Regions from separate parts of the Homo sapiens genome. Here all the other regions are linked to region 5. The links are contacts of gene promoters, found by promoter capture Hi-C in blood cells and fetal thymus (Javierre and others, 2016). All regions are on one chromosome and are shown on one strand. Each heading gives the region's core, a stretch centred on a gene start or on the middle of the fragment in contact. The rest is flanking DNA. Distances are from core to core; before and after follow the strand shown.

The links. Contacts are between HindIII fragments. The CHiCAGO score rates a contact against its expected background, and 5 or more counts as called.
Region 1: a fragment that was not itself captured here is called in contact with the fragment with the promoter of EXPH5 in region 5 in 1 of 17 cell types (naive CD4 T cells); the score reaches 6.0 in naive CD4 T cells.
Region 2: a contact is called between a fragment that was not itself captured here and the fragment with the promoter of EXPH5 in region 5, in 1 of 17 cell types (naive CD4 T cells). The highest score is 6.3, in naive CD4 T cells.
Region 3: a fragment that was not itself captured here is called in contact with the fragment with the promoter of EXPH5 in region 5 in 1 of 17 cell types (naive CD4 T cells); the score reaches 7.3 in naive CD4 T cells.
Region 4: a contact is called between a fragment that was not itself captured here and the fragment with the promoter of EXPH5 in region 5, in 4 of 17 cell types (naive CD8 T cells, total CD4 T cells, non-activated CD4 T cells and 1 more). The highest score is 6.2, in naive CD8 T cells.

The regions. Positions count from the first base shown.
Region 1 is chr11:108,211,794-108,214,493 of GRCh38, forward strand. The region is part of intron 1 of NPAT (nuclear protein, coactivator of histone transcription); the gene reads right to left. Among named protein-coding and RNA genes, the nearest start is that of NPAT, 9.5 kb to the right of the region's middle. The HindIII fragment of the contact is 5,376 bases long and covers 1-2,700 here.
Region 2 is chr11:108,334,427-108,337,126 of GRCh38, forward strand. ATM (ATM serine/threonine kinase) reads left to right here. Exons shown (of 63, transcript NM_000051.4): 55 at 543-683; 56 at 1,419-1,535. It also overlaps a transcript of C11orf65 not described here. Among named protein-coding and RNA genes, the nearest start is that of ATM, 110 kb to the left of the region's middle. The HindIII fragment of the contact is 3,297 bases long and covers 1-2,700 here.
Region 3 is chr11:108,107,325-108,110,024 of GRCh38, forward strand. CUL5 (cullin 5) reads left to right here. Exons shown (of 19, transcript NM_003478.6): 19 at 1-437. Among named protein-coding and RNA genes, the nearest start is that of ACAT1, 13 kb to the right of the region's middle. The HindIII fragment of the contact is 1,745 bases long and covers 437-2,181 here.
Region 4 is chr11:108,139,724-108,142,423 of GRCh38, forward strand. ACAT1 (acetyl-CoA acetyltransferase 1) reads left to right here. Exons shown (of 12, transcript NM_000019.4): 7 at 342-492; 8 at 1,882-1,977. Among named protein-coding and RNA genes, the nearest start is that of ACAT1, 20 kb to the left of the region's middle. The HindIII fragment of the contact is 4,039 bases long and covers 1-2,700 here.
Region 5 is chr11:108,592,402-108,595,101 of GRCh38, forward strand. It overlaps EXPH5 (exophilin 5), which reads right to left and starts at 1,367. Exons shown (of 6, transcript NM_015065.3): 1 at 1,017-1,367. The coding sequence starts at 1,135. RefSeq lists silencers at 844-903, 1,184-1,233, 1,254-1,553. The HindIII fragment of the contact is 3,661 bases long and covers 1-2,700 here.

The DNA of each region.
Region 1 (2,700 bases), core at 137-2,636, 380 kb before region 5:
TAAAAATTTAGCTGGGTATGGTGGCATGTGCCTATAGTTCCAGTTACTTGGGAGGGTGAGGTAGAAGGATAGTTTTAGTCTGGGAGGCTGAGGCTGCAGTGGGCCATAATCATGCCACTGCAGTCCAGCCTGGATGACAGAGTAAGAACCTGTTTCAAAAGCAAAACAAAACAAAACAAAACTCTACCAAAGAAACCAAAAAAAACAAAATCCAACACCCTTTCATGATAAAAACACTAGAAATAAAAAGAAATTTCCTCAACCTCATAGAGTTATCTATTAAAAAAAAAAAAAGCCAAGTAACATCATCTTCAATGGTTTAAAATTCAAACCTTTCCCCATAAGATCAGGGAAAAGGTAAGAAGGTCTGTTCTTGTCATTTCTATTCAACATTGCATGTATCCTCTAGCCAGGGCAATTAGGAAAAAACTTGAAATAAAAAGCATCCAGGCCGGGTGCAGTGGCTCACACCTGTAATCCCAGCACTTTGGGAGGCCGAGCTGGGCGGATCATTTGAGGTCAGGAGTTCCAGACCAGCCTGCTCAACATGGTGAAACCCCGTCTCTACTAAAAATACAAAAATTAGCCAGGTGTGGTGGTGCATGCCTGTAATGCCAACTACTCAGGAGGCAGAGGCAGGAGAATTGCTTGAATCCGGGAGGTGGAGGTTGCAGTGAGCTGAGATAGGGCCACTGCACTCTAGCCTGGGCAACAGAGAGAGACTCCGTCTCAAAAGAAAAAAAAAAAAAGCATCCAGATTGGAAAGGAAAAAATCAAGATTACCCCTATTTGCAGATGACATGTCTTATATAGAAAATCCTAAGGAAGCCATAAAAAACAACAACAACAACAACAAAAAAACTATTAGAGGCCAGGCACCACGGCTCATACCTATAATCCCAGCACTCTGGGAGGCCAAGGCAGGCAGATTGCCTGAGGTCAGGAGTTCGAGACCAGTCTGGCCAACATGGTGAAACCCCGTCTCTACTAAAAATACAAAAAAATGAGCCAGGCATGGTGGTGTCCACCTTAATCCCAGCTGCTAGGGAGGCTGAGGCAGGGGAATCACTTGAACCAGGGAGGTGGAGGTTGCAATGAGCCGAGATGGTGCCATTGCACTCCAGCCTGGGCAACAGAGCAAGACTCTGTCTCAAAAAAAAAAAAAAAAAAAAAAAAAAAGGAGTTAAGAAACCTCCCTGGGCGGGGCATGGTGGCTCATGCCTATAATCCAGCACTTTGGGAGGCCAAGGCCAGCAAATCACCTGAGGTCGGGAGTTCGAGACCAGCCTGACCAACATGGAGAAACCCTGGTGCTACTAAAAATACAAAGTTAGCTGGGCAAGGTGATGCATGCCTGTAATCCCAGCTATTCCAGAGGCTGAGGCAGGAGAATCGCTTGAACCCGGGAGGCAGAGGTTGTGGTGAGCCAAGATTGCGCCATTGCACTCCAGCCTGGGCAACAAGAGCGAAACTCTGTCCCAAAAACAAAACGAAACAAAACAAAAACTATTAGAGCTAATAAATGACTTCGACAAGGTTGCAGGATACACAGTGAATATATAAAAGTCAATAAATCTCAATGAACTACCAAAAATTAAGAATGCAATGCTAGTTACAATAGCATCAAAAGAAATAAAATACTTAGGAATAAGTTTAACAAAAGTAAAGGACTTGCATACTAAAAACTGGAAAACGTCACTGGAGGAAATTAAAGACCTAAATCCACGCAAAGACATACTGTGTTCATGGACTGAAAGGTTCAATATTGTTAAAAACTCAATACTCCCAAAATTCACCGATACATTCAACACAATTCCTATCATAATCTCAACTGCCTTTTGTGCAGAAATTGACAAACATCCTAAAACTCCTAAGGTAATACAAGGGGGCTGGAATAGCCAAAATAATCTTGAAAATGAAGAAAAAGTTGAAGCACTTACACTTACCAATTTCAAAACTTACTGTAAAGCTACAGTAATCCAGACGATGTACGGGCATGAGGTTAGACACAGAAATTAGTGGAACAAAATAAAAAATCCAGACCTTTCTTATTTATCTAGTCAACTCTGAAGCATGGAATCCAGACATTTATGGTCAGTTTATTTTTTTTCAGAGACAGAGTCTTGCTCTGTCACCCAGGCTGAAGTAGAGTGGCTCAATCATAGCTCACTATAACCTTGAACTCCTGGGCTGAAGTGATCCTCCCACTTCAGCCAACCCAGTAGCTAGGACTAGAGGCATGTACCACCAAATAAATGCCCAGCTAATTACTTACTTATTGGTACAGATGGGGTGTCTCAGTATGCTGCCCAGGCTGGTCTCGCTCCCCTGGCTTCAAGCAATCCTCCTGCCTTGGCCTCCCAAAGTGTTGGGATTACAGGGTGAGCCATTACAGCTGGCCTGCATTTTTCATAACAGTGTCCATTAATGAATGGACAAACAAAATATGGCATATTCATATAATGAAATATTCAGCTATAAAAAGGAATGAAGTACTAATACCTGCTACAACATGGAATAAGGCTGAAAACATTATGCTATGTGAAAGTCAGACACAAAAAGCGAAATATTCTATTTCATTTATGTGCAATGTCCAGGCAAGGCACATGTATAGATACAGAAAGTAGATTTGTGGTTGGCAGAGGACGGGGCAAGGGGGAATTGGAAGTGACTTAATAGTATAAGGATTCTCTTTGGAGT
Region 2 (2,700 bases), core at 118-2,617, 260 kb before region 5:
CTGTTCTAATATTCTTTTATTGCAAGAAATAATGGAAGTAATTTCATGTGGGCAGGGATATATGTAATAAGGGTTATAAGTTTAGAAAATGATCATCTTAAATACATTGTCTTTCTTTTCATTTTGCAGTTTAGTGCTTAGTATCTAGTTACTTGATTTGAAATGTAGCTGTATCATGTGGATTAACTGCTGTTTTTCTAGCTATATCAGCTAGGTGATTTCGCTGAATGTTTCCTTAAAATGCCAGATTTAGCAGTTATAACCCAGAAAACTCCTTCTACTGTTTTCCAAAATTTACTTTATGTTTTCGTGAGGAGTTATTTCTCAGATGACTTTACATATATTAGTGAATCTTTGATGAAACAGTAGTTAAAGTTACGAGCGTGAGCCACCACACCCGGCCTAAAGTTGTAGTTCTTAACCACTATCACATCGTCATTTGTTTCTCTGTTTAATATTAAAATTGCCATTTATAATGTATTTTTCTTTAAGTGCAAATAGTGTATCTGACCTATTATCAATCATGTTTATACTTTTATTAGGTGGACCACACAGGAGAATATGGAAATCTGGTGACTATACAGTCATTTAAAGCAGAATTTCGCTTAGCAGGAGGTGTAAATTTACCAAAAATAATAGATTGTGTAGGTTCCGATGGCAAGGAGAGGAGACAGCTTGTTAAGGTGAGCCTTCCCTTCTCTGGCTTAGCCCTTAGAGTTTTAGTGATGAAAATTTTTAGTTCATATTTTCTTTCTGCTTTATTTGGGATTTTGTCTTTATTTTGAATACTTACAAATGAGGAAGATTTGTAGAGTAGAAATGCATTATTTTCTAGAACCAGGCTTTTCTCCATTTTTTTTGTGTCTCTGAAAGACAATCATTATTATATGGTTGATTCAAGTAAAAGAATACCATTAACATGTACAGACATGTACAGTGAGGTTGCTTCTTATGAAAAAAAATACTTTGGTGTCTGTCTCTTATTTCCTTGAATAGTGCAAGTTGACGTCCTTTGCATCAGTATACCGGGTCTCGTACTGTGCCAAGTGCTATTTAATGTACCAAAAAGGGAGAGCATTCTTCCCTTACCATTTGCTGACGAGCTCTTTGGGTCCTACTGGGGAGTGGTGGAAAGACACAGTGCTGTTTTACTCAGGTGTTTGCAGTATGCCTTCCTAGGGGGGACTTCCAGTTAATCTAATTACAGAAGTAGCGAGGGGAAACTTTCTAAATCAGTGTAAATGTTGTAGCTTATTCTAAATGAAAGAATGGCAGTAGGTATTTAATTATTTGGGAGACTGTCAAGAGGTGCACAGATGCTCAGATTGGTTTGAGTGCCCTTTGCTATTCTCAGATGACTCTGTGTTTTTATAATAAAATAAACTGTACTTGTTTATTCATGCTTAATTATTCTGAAGGGCCGTGATGACCTGAGACAAGATGCTGTCATGCAACAGGTCTTCCAGATGTGTAATACATTACTGCAGAGAAACACGGAAACTAGGAAGAGGAAATTAACTATCTGTACTTATAAGGTAACTATTTGTACTTCTGTTAGTTCACCAAAAACATATAAAAGATGCCATTTGGTTGGGTGAAGTGGCTCATGCCCATATTCATAATGCTTTGGGAGGCCAAGGTGGGAGGATTGCTTGAGGCCAGGAGTTCGAGACCAGCCTCAGCAACATAGTGAGACCCCATCTTGACAAAAAGTTAAAAAAAAAAAAAAAGCCAGAGATGATGGCATGTGCTTGTAGTCCCTTAGCTACATGGGAGGCTGAGGTGGGAGGATCACTTGAGTCCAGGAGTTTGAGGCTGCAGTGAGCTCAAACTCTGCAGTGAGCCCCAGTCCAGCCTGAGCAACACAGCAAGATCCCGTTTAAAAAAGAAGAAGAAGAAGAAGATGCCATTATTTGGACCAGGAGTCTACAAATGTTTTCTGTGAAGGACCAAATAATAAAGATTTATTTTCTTTGTAAAAAGTATTTATTAATGTTAATTATAGTTAGGTGTTTCTTATAGTCAACTGAAGTATTTTTTCCTTTTTTTTCTACTCAACAATATGTCACAGAAATCTTTCTCATTTTTTAACAGCTGCATTGTGTGTATGTATGTAGTTTTTTATACAAGTCCTTATCGATGGGCATTTGTGTTGTTTTCAGTCTTTTGCTGCTACAAACAACGCTGTATTGTAGTGAATAACCTTGAACATACAAATTTCATACATGCGCAGGCAAATTTGTAGCATGGATTTCCAAAAGTTGGATTGCTGGGTTAGAGGATACATGCATCTGTAATCTGGTACATATTGCCAAATTACTCTCAATGGGAGTGTACCCACTTACATTTCCTCTAGCTATTTGCCTGAGAAGACAATCCTCAGTCACATTCTATGAGCTGATCATCTTTGACTCTTATATTAATTATTCATTTAACCAGTTTAGAAATAACAATAAATCCTTATTTTGAAGGGCCTATTTTCCATAGGTTTGTCTTTTGTGATTTCATTCCTGTACCTCATTTTTAAACTTTCTCCTTCTATAAATGTTGTAACAGGGACTATGGGTGACATGTGCTTTTTTATATATTTCTAGTTTTCCACTATGAACGTGTTTTATTTTTAAAATAATGGCTAAATTAAAAGCCCTAAATAGGGGAGTGAAGAAGAATAAATTAGATCTACCCTCCAAAATGCTGCTT
Region 3 (2,700 bases), core at 59-2,558, 490 kb before region 5:
CACTGCTCAAAGGGCAAATTTTAAAACTTCAGTCTGGGTGAAAGATTTGCTAGTTTTACAGAAAGATTTGCTATCTTAAACTCAAGCTGGTTTTTCTGTTCTCATGTAAGTGACTGGGATGCTGTCTTATGAATTCTTCCAAGGTCATGTTTGTGAAATAAACATTACATGAGAGCTTTCCTGTCATCTACACTATATGTTGTCTGGAGTGTTGAACAAATTTATTTTAGTTTCTAAGTTGTAATCTATCCTCATATGGTCTATACGATTTTGAATGTGTGCCACTACATACTGAGATGATAATGCTGTACAATTTTAAGTGGTAGCAGTTTCTGTATGCAGTAGGCTGAAATATTTTGATGAACTGCTTAATTTTTGGATTTTATTTTTTAAGTTGTATAATTTATTTTCTTGCAAAATAAAAATGTAATATAAAAGCTTTTACCTATCCAGAAAATGTTGATGTTCTACTATAAAATAGTTACAAAGAGTTTAATTAAAATTTTTATAGTAGGTATATTTTTAAATTTGAAGGTAAATTAATCTCAGCCAGCCTTAGGAATCAGAAATATGAAAAGTAACCCACTTATTTATATTAGACTTCAAATTCTAATTCAAAATGAGAGCAGTCAGGAATGTAGCTTTTCCACTGATGATAGCATGTGGCTATATGCCTGGAAGAGGTAATAAAAAAAAAAAAATTCCAACCTGAAAGTGGTTAATATATTCATCAACTAAGATAGGCTATGTCATAACAAAATTCAAATTTTATAGCAGATAAAAGTAAAAAATGGGCCGGGCTCAGTGGCTCACGCCTGTAATCCCAGCACTTTGGGAGGCCAAGGTGGGTGGATCACCTGAGGACAGGAGTTCAAGACCAGCCTGGCAAACATGGTGAAACCCTGTCTCTACTAAAAATATAAAAATTAGCCGGGTGTAGTAGCGCGCGCCTGTAGTCCCAGCTACTCGGAAGGCTAAGGCAGGAGAATCGCTTGAACCCGGGAGGCGGAGGTTGCAGTGAACCAAGATTGTGCCACTGCACTCCAGCCTGGGCGACAGAATGAGACTGTCTCAAAAAAAAAAAAAAAAAAAAAAAAAAAGTAAAAAATGTAAAACATAATCATTTCACATTTTGGATATATTTGAAAATTTGTGAAATACTTATTTTTGTTTTTATTTTTATTTTTTGAGACAGAGTCTCACTTTGTCACCCAGGCTGGAGTGCAGTGGCGCGATCTCGGCTCGCTGTAAGCTCCATCTCCTGGGTTCATGCCATTCTCCTGCGTCAGCCTCCCGAGTAGCTGGGACTACAGGCGCCTGCCACCACACCTGGCTAATTTTTTGCAGTTTTAGTGGAGACAGGGTTTCACCATGTTAGCCAGGATGGTCTCAATCTCCTGACCTCGTGATCTAGCTGCCTCGGCCTCCCAAAGTGCTGGGATTACAGGTGTGAGCCATCGCGTCTGGCCTGAAATACTTATTTTTAAGCTAGAAATAGTTTGGCAATAAGGTTGTGAAACTGGACAGATAATAGCAATTAGTTACTGATCAAGTGAACAATTTAATAATCGAAAAAACTCTTGACTATAAGAAACTTGAATTGCATACAGGGACTTAATTACCCAGAGGAACTAAATTTAAAAGAAATTTCAGGCTGGGCGCAGTGGCTCACACCTGTAATCCCAGCACTTTGAGAAGGTGAGGTGGGCAGATCACTTGAGGTCAGGAGTTCAAGAACAGCCTGGCCAACATGGCAATACCCCATCTCTACTAAAAATACATACCTGTAATCCCAGCTACTCAGGAGGCTGAGGCATGAGAATCACTTGAGCCTGGGAGGTGGAGGTTGTAGCAAGCTGAGATCGCACCACTGCGCTCCAGCCTGGGCAACAGGGCCAGACTAATTCATTCATTGATTCATAAATAAATGTTATAGAGCTCCTTTACATTGAGGGATCATTTCTTGTTCCTACTGTAGTAGTCAATAAATGTTTTGGACAACTGGATGGAGGAACACATTTGACTTCATAACGACTCTAAACTCAACCTTGGACTTAAACTGGCATTTGGGAGTTTGGGGTTGGGGGAGGAGTTGACTTGGAAATGAAGCTAGAGAAGGTATTTTCTCAGTATAAAATTTCATCTGAACCAAGAAACAGATTTCATTTAAACCAAGAAATAAGCTTAAGCTTTTGGGCCCCTTGTACAAGGCTCTGGGAGGGGGAGCCCTACAAGTTTTGTATTTTCTTAAAGAGGGTCCTCAAAATATCAAGTTGGATTCAGCCCTGTTAAACCTCAGTGTAAAAAGGGCACATAGTAGGACTGAATGAATGATAGCACATGTGCCTGAGAATATAGTTCAATGTTTTAGTTCTTTTTTTTTTTTTTTTTTTTTTTTTGAGATAGAGTTTCTGTCACCTAGGCTGGAGTGCAGTGGCACAATTGCAGATCATTGCAGCCTTGAACTCCTGGGCTCCAGTGATCCTCCCACTTTAGCCTCCTGAGTAGCTGGGACCACAGGCACACACCACCTAGGTAATTTTTTTTTTATTTGCCTAGGTAATTTTTTTTTTATTTGCGGAGAGGAGGTCTCACTATGTTGCCCAGGCTGGTTTCGAACTCCTGAGTTCGAGCAGTCCTCCTCCCTTGGCATCCAGGAGTGCTGGGATTACAGGCATGAGCCACCGCACTCGGCCAATA
Region 4 (2,700 bases), core at 29-2,528, 450 kb before region 5:
AGTCTTAGCTCACTGCAGCCTCCGCCTCCTGGGCTCAAGCAATTCTCCTGCCTCAGGCTCCCGAGTAGCTGGGACTACAGGCACGTGCCCCCATGCCCGGCTAATTTTTAGTAGAGACGGGGTTTCACCATGTTGGCCAGGATGGTCTTGATCTCCTGACCTCATGATCTGCCTGCCTTGGCCCCCCAAAGTGCTGGGATTACAGGCATGAGCCACCACCTCCGGCCTAAGAAATATATTTTAAGAAACGTTAACTATTAAACACTATAAGTTAGGCAAAGTTAATAGATATTTTCTAAATTATGCAAAGTTAACTTTAAAATATTTCAACTTTTTATCAGGGCAGCTGTGCTGAGAATACAGCAAAGAAGCTGAATATTGCACGAAATGAACAGGACGCTTATGCTATTAATTCTTATACCAGAAGTAAAGCAGCATGGGAAGCTGGGAAATTTGGAAATGAAGTTATTCCTGTCACAGTTACAGTAAAAGGTAGAGATAATGTTCCAAAAAGGATGAATAGACTTTTCATGTTGCTGAATGTTTTATGCTTAAGTTTTAAATTAGGACATTATCTTGGTTCATTTCAACTGCTTATGGTTAATAAAAAGTGAAGAGTTGCCAGTTCAGAGAGAATATAAATCTACCCAACTTAATGTCAGATTTCAATCCATTTATAAGATCCCTGAGTATTACTTTAAATTTGAGAAATTTATTAGAACTTTTTCCTGTGACAGTCAATACGGTATTTTAAATTGAAAAGGGATTTACTAGAAGGTTACCGGGAGTGCCTCCAAGAACTGAAGGATGAACAGTAGCAACCATTCAGCTCTGGGAACTTCAGGGATTGGAACTGGGTGTTCACTACTACTAAGACATGCTCTCTTGGCTTCTCACACCTGCAGGCTTTTGTGCTTTATTCTCTCAGCCTTTCTAAAGTTGCTGCCTCTACCTCTAGGGTCACATATATAGGGTTCTCAAAAAGGAGAGACTTTCTCACCAGTTCCAGCAGAATAAATCCACAATGAAGACTCATTAACTTGCTTTAGGTTACAATTCTATTCCAGGAATGATTACTGTGCTCTAGGTGACAGAATACTAGAGCTTATCTAGTGTAGGTCAGACAGCTGCCTCTGGGGTCAGGAGAGTGGGGTCTGTGATCATAGAAGGGAGTTGAGGAAGAAAAGGGGACATGGAGGTGTAGAAGATTTAAATTTTGTGGCTGGGTGCAGTGGCTCACACCTGTAATCCCAACACTTTGGGAGGCCGAGGTGGGAGGATTGCTTGAGCCCAGGAGTTTGAGACCAGCCTGGGCAACGAAGTGAGACTTGGCCTCCACACAAAAAAATTAAAAATTAGCTGGGTATAGCAGCACACGCCTGTAGTCCCAGCTACTAGGGAATCCAAGGCAGGAGGATCAATTGAGCCCAGGAGTCCGAGGCTGCAGTGAGCTAGGTTTGTAGCATTGCACTCTATTGGGAGACTGTGCAAGACCATTTCAAACAAACAAAATTAGCTGGCTGTGGTGGCTCCCACCTGTAGTCCCAGCTACTTGGGAGGCTGAGGTGGGAGGATCACATGGGCCTGGAGAGGATGAGGTAAACTGTGATCATGCCAGCCTAAGCAGGAGAGGGAAACCCTGCCTCAAAAAAAAAAAAAAAAAAAAAAAAAATTGTGAAGCTACTTTGTAAGTTTCTCTTTTTAAGATGGTAACATAATAGAGGTTATAGTTAACAGATTCTAGATGAGTGTTTACTTGGGATGGTTTAAGTGAAGCAGGGATACAAAGGGAGGCACAGACTACTAGGCATCTTGTACAACAGTTGCTTGCTGAATGACTACTTGTTTTGAGCGATTTTACTTAAAATATTTTTATTTTAGGTCAACCAGATGTAGTGGTGAAAGAAGATGAAGAATATAAACGTGTTGATTTTAGCAAAGTTCCAAAGCTGAAGACAGTTTTCCAGAAAGAAAATGGTTAGTGTTAAGAAATGAAGCATAAGAAAAAATTGAGCCAGTATACCATATCTAGTTCTTAGAATTGCCTAAGGATTTTGAAAAATTCTAGAAAACATCTAGATGTTATTTAACATTTTCAGTATATCAGGCTCATGTAAAATTGTTTTGGTAGTTTATACCTTCAATATATAAATCCCAGGGAAGATATGTATAACATGACTATAGAATTCAGTTTTTCATATGTAGCAGTCTATGATAGGGTCTTCATTGGCATTGAAAAAAACAGATTTATTGATATAATTTATATACCATAATAACATTCTTCTATTTAAAGTGGTTTGGTAGTTTTTAACATTCATTTATATTTATCTCCAGGTGATTCTAGATAAGAATAAATATCTGATTTGAAAAATATGTAGTGAGTACCTGCTATATATTGAATAAGGAAAGTTAGACCCTGGAGACAAAAATATTAACTGGTCCCTATGTTTCAAGAGTTGTAGACGAGCATTTATCCAGTGCCATCATGCATGTTTGTGATGTTTGAGAAAACTGTTTTATGTACACAAAAAGGCATTCTTACATTGTCTTGCAGTTAGCTGTGTACATGTTTCCTGAGGGCAGGAATTGTCTCCACCCATATTTGTAATTTCTTTAAACATTTAGCAGCCCAGGCAATAGGTATTTGTTGAATTGAACCAAATACATTTATTGTGAAGGAATGTTTTGACTTCAACCTCA
Region 5 (2,700 bases), core at 117-2,616:
AGAAAGAATTGGGAACCTGGAACTCGCATTAGCAAGCAGTTGATCATAAAACAAAATGACTTGCTAAATTCCAATCAATGGCACACAGTGTGGTCTGAGAGTGATGTCCTGAATTCCCTTCCACAGTTATCTAGAGAAGGACTTAGATGGATATATTCCAATATTGGCGAGAGAGTCCCTTTAATTCATTCCAGCACTTATCCCACACTTCCCCAGCAGAAAAACTGGTTAATGTACATCCTGGGTAATTATCTGTGTCTCTGGATTTCATTCTTTAGTAACTAATCCCTCACCTACAACAGTGTATAGTAAGGTCAAGGATGAAATTTCTCAGAAACTCGCTCCCCACAGCACCACGCACAAGAAGACCCACCCATTCCAGCCAACCCCGTGTGTCCAAGTCCCATTCGCCCACATAAGCCTCTATTTGACAAATTCCTCGAGCTCCTACCCTTGGGGTGGGGACCTTTCGCCTCCCGTGAGGTGCCGGCTCTCCCGTGCTTCGCTGACTGCCCGCATTGGGTGGGGAGATTCGCCTCTGGTGCCGAGGGAAAACTGCGTTAGGCGAGGGTGGAAGCTCTGTCGGACCCGTGCGAGCACGTGGGTGCGCGCGGGCCGCGGAGTGAGCAGCAGCCAGGATTCCTCTCCAGATCGCGCCCCCGCCGCATTTCATTGCCTGAAACGGCCCACGCCCCGCGATGGCCCAGCAGACACCCGGCACAGCACAGCGTCACTGCGCGGCCCCCGCAGCGCACGGACCCCCCCACCCTGCCCGACCCCAGACCCGCAGCCGAGCCCGTCTGGTATGTGGTGGGTGGAGAGGGTACCAACTAAGCATCCCAAAGTCCTTCAGGGAGCAACTCCGCGCAGTTTTCTCTTCCCGACCCGCAGCCTCCGCAGCAGCCGCTCGGAGCACCCCCGGGCAGGTGCCCCGCGCGAGCTCAGCGCCTTCCCCGCGGATCCCCGGCCCCTGCGGGACCCAGGCCCAGGACAAAAGAAATGAATTTGCTCTGTACCTGATCCTGTCCTTCTCGGCCCTCTGTAACTCCTCATTCCTTTCCAGCACCTGAAGGATCTTCCTGGCCTCTTCGTCATTTAAGAAACTGAAATCAAACGCCGGAGGAACTTTCGTCATTTTCTTTACTGTGTGTGAGTTACACTTAAGCTCCTTGGCGCCTCCTGTTAGGAAGGCATTTTTCAACCTGTACAAGACCAGTTTCACGAACTTGATCCCACAGCCAATAATAAGTCCGCCCCTTTGAAAGTCTAAAACCACAAACCTAGGGAACGCCCACACCTGAAGGGCTCATATTGACAATACCTTAATGACATGTTTCTCTCAACCTGTCCAACCGAGATGCAAAGTGAACGGCTAAAGGGAGAGAGGGAACCAATCCCGTTCCAAGGGGGCGGGCCCTCCCTTGTCCCCTCCCTCGTCCCCTCCCTCGTCTCGTCCCGTCCCTCGTCCCCTCCCTCGTCCCCTCCGGTCACCCTCCCCGCCCCCTATCTGAGTTGTTAAGCAAACAAGCCTACATAATTCTGCCTCTTAAGTGAGGCAAGGCTAAGTGTTGGCGCCAAAGTATTTGCTTTTGCTGTTGCTGTTTGCTCGCAGAACTTGAGCTTGATTAGTAAAGGAGTGAAAAAGGAGATTCATGACTAATCCTCCCTTTCAATAATTAAGAGCCCATAGAAAATAGAATTGCAAGTAGGGTTTGTAACTGGCAAAAGGGTTACTTATCTGAAAGACCAGGAAGAACTAAACTCAATTACACTACTGACTGTGGATGAACCTGGCTGAAGGGCGGAAATTAGTGTATCCTTGGAAACGAATTATTTGCCAAGCCTCTCATCCCACAGACACCCCCACCTCCACTGTCCCACAAAAGTCATTCTTAGACTTTAGAAACAAACAAACAAACAAACAAAACCGTTTATGGTATTTTAGGAGAAGACAGCCCAGAAGCAAAGGACTGTAGAAAACACCTGTTAGAAGTTTTCTGTAAGATTTTATTATCATCTTAATAAACTCAGAGAAGTAATACACATGCCATTTAAAAATACCTAATCCTCTGGTGAAAGCAAATGGTAATCCTATGAAGCCACAGAAATAGCTTTCCTAGAAAGTCAATTGTTCCACAATGCAATGAAGAATAATAGAAACTTATAAAGATATTCACATATATACTTTTTTTTTAATTATCAAGGCTTTTACAGAAAACATGTTTTTATCTTGGCTTCACTTCCTACCCAAAAATAACTCTGTCAGATTGACTTTCCTGCCCCATAGCCTTAATTTGGTCATTTTGAAGATGGTGGTGATGATTACTAACATATAAAATGTACTTCTACATATATCATTTCTTTTCATGGCACATAAACCCAATTAAAATTTTGTATCTGTACAAGAACATGATATCAAAAATTGCCACTTGTGTTTTGTTCTCTGGGCTACCCCATTTGATCATCATTATTTAAAACATGCCTAGGCAGCTAGCCATTCAGATAACTTTCTGTGGGTGTCTGTTATTTGTGTGAACCAGGAACCAATTTTGTTCACCCATGGTGTACACAATACAGAACTCCTTTATAAATAGTGTCTGTATTAATGATCCTGTTTTGGGAGTATGTCTTGTATATGGTGTCCAGTTTTTCTAGTGTGTTCATTTATTCAGCATACACATGGGACTTTTCAATATGGTC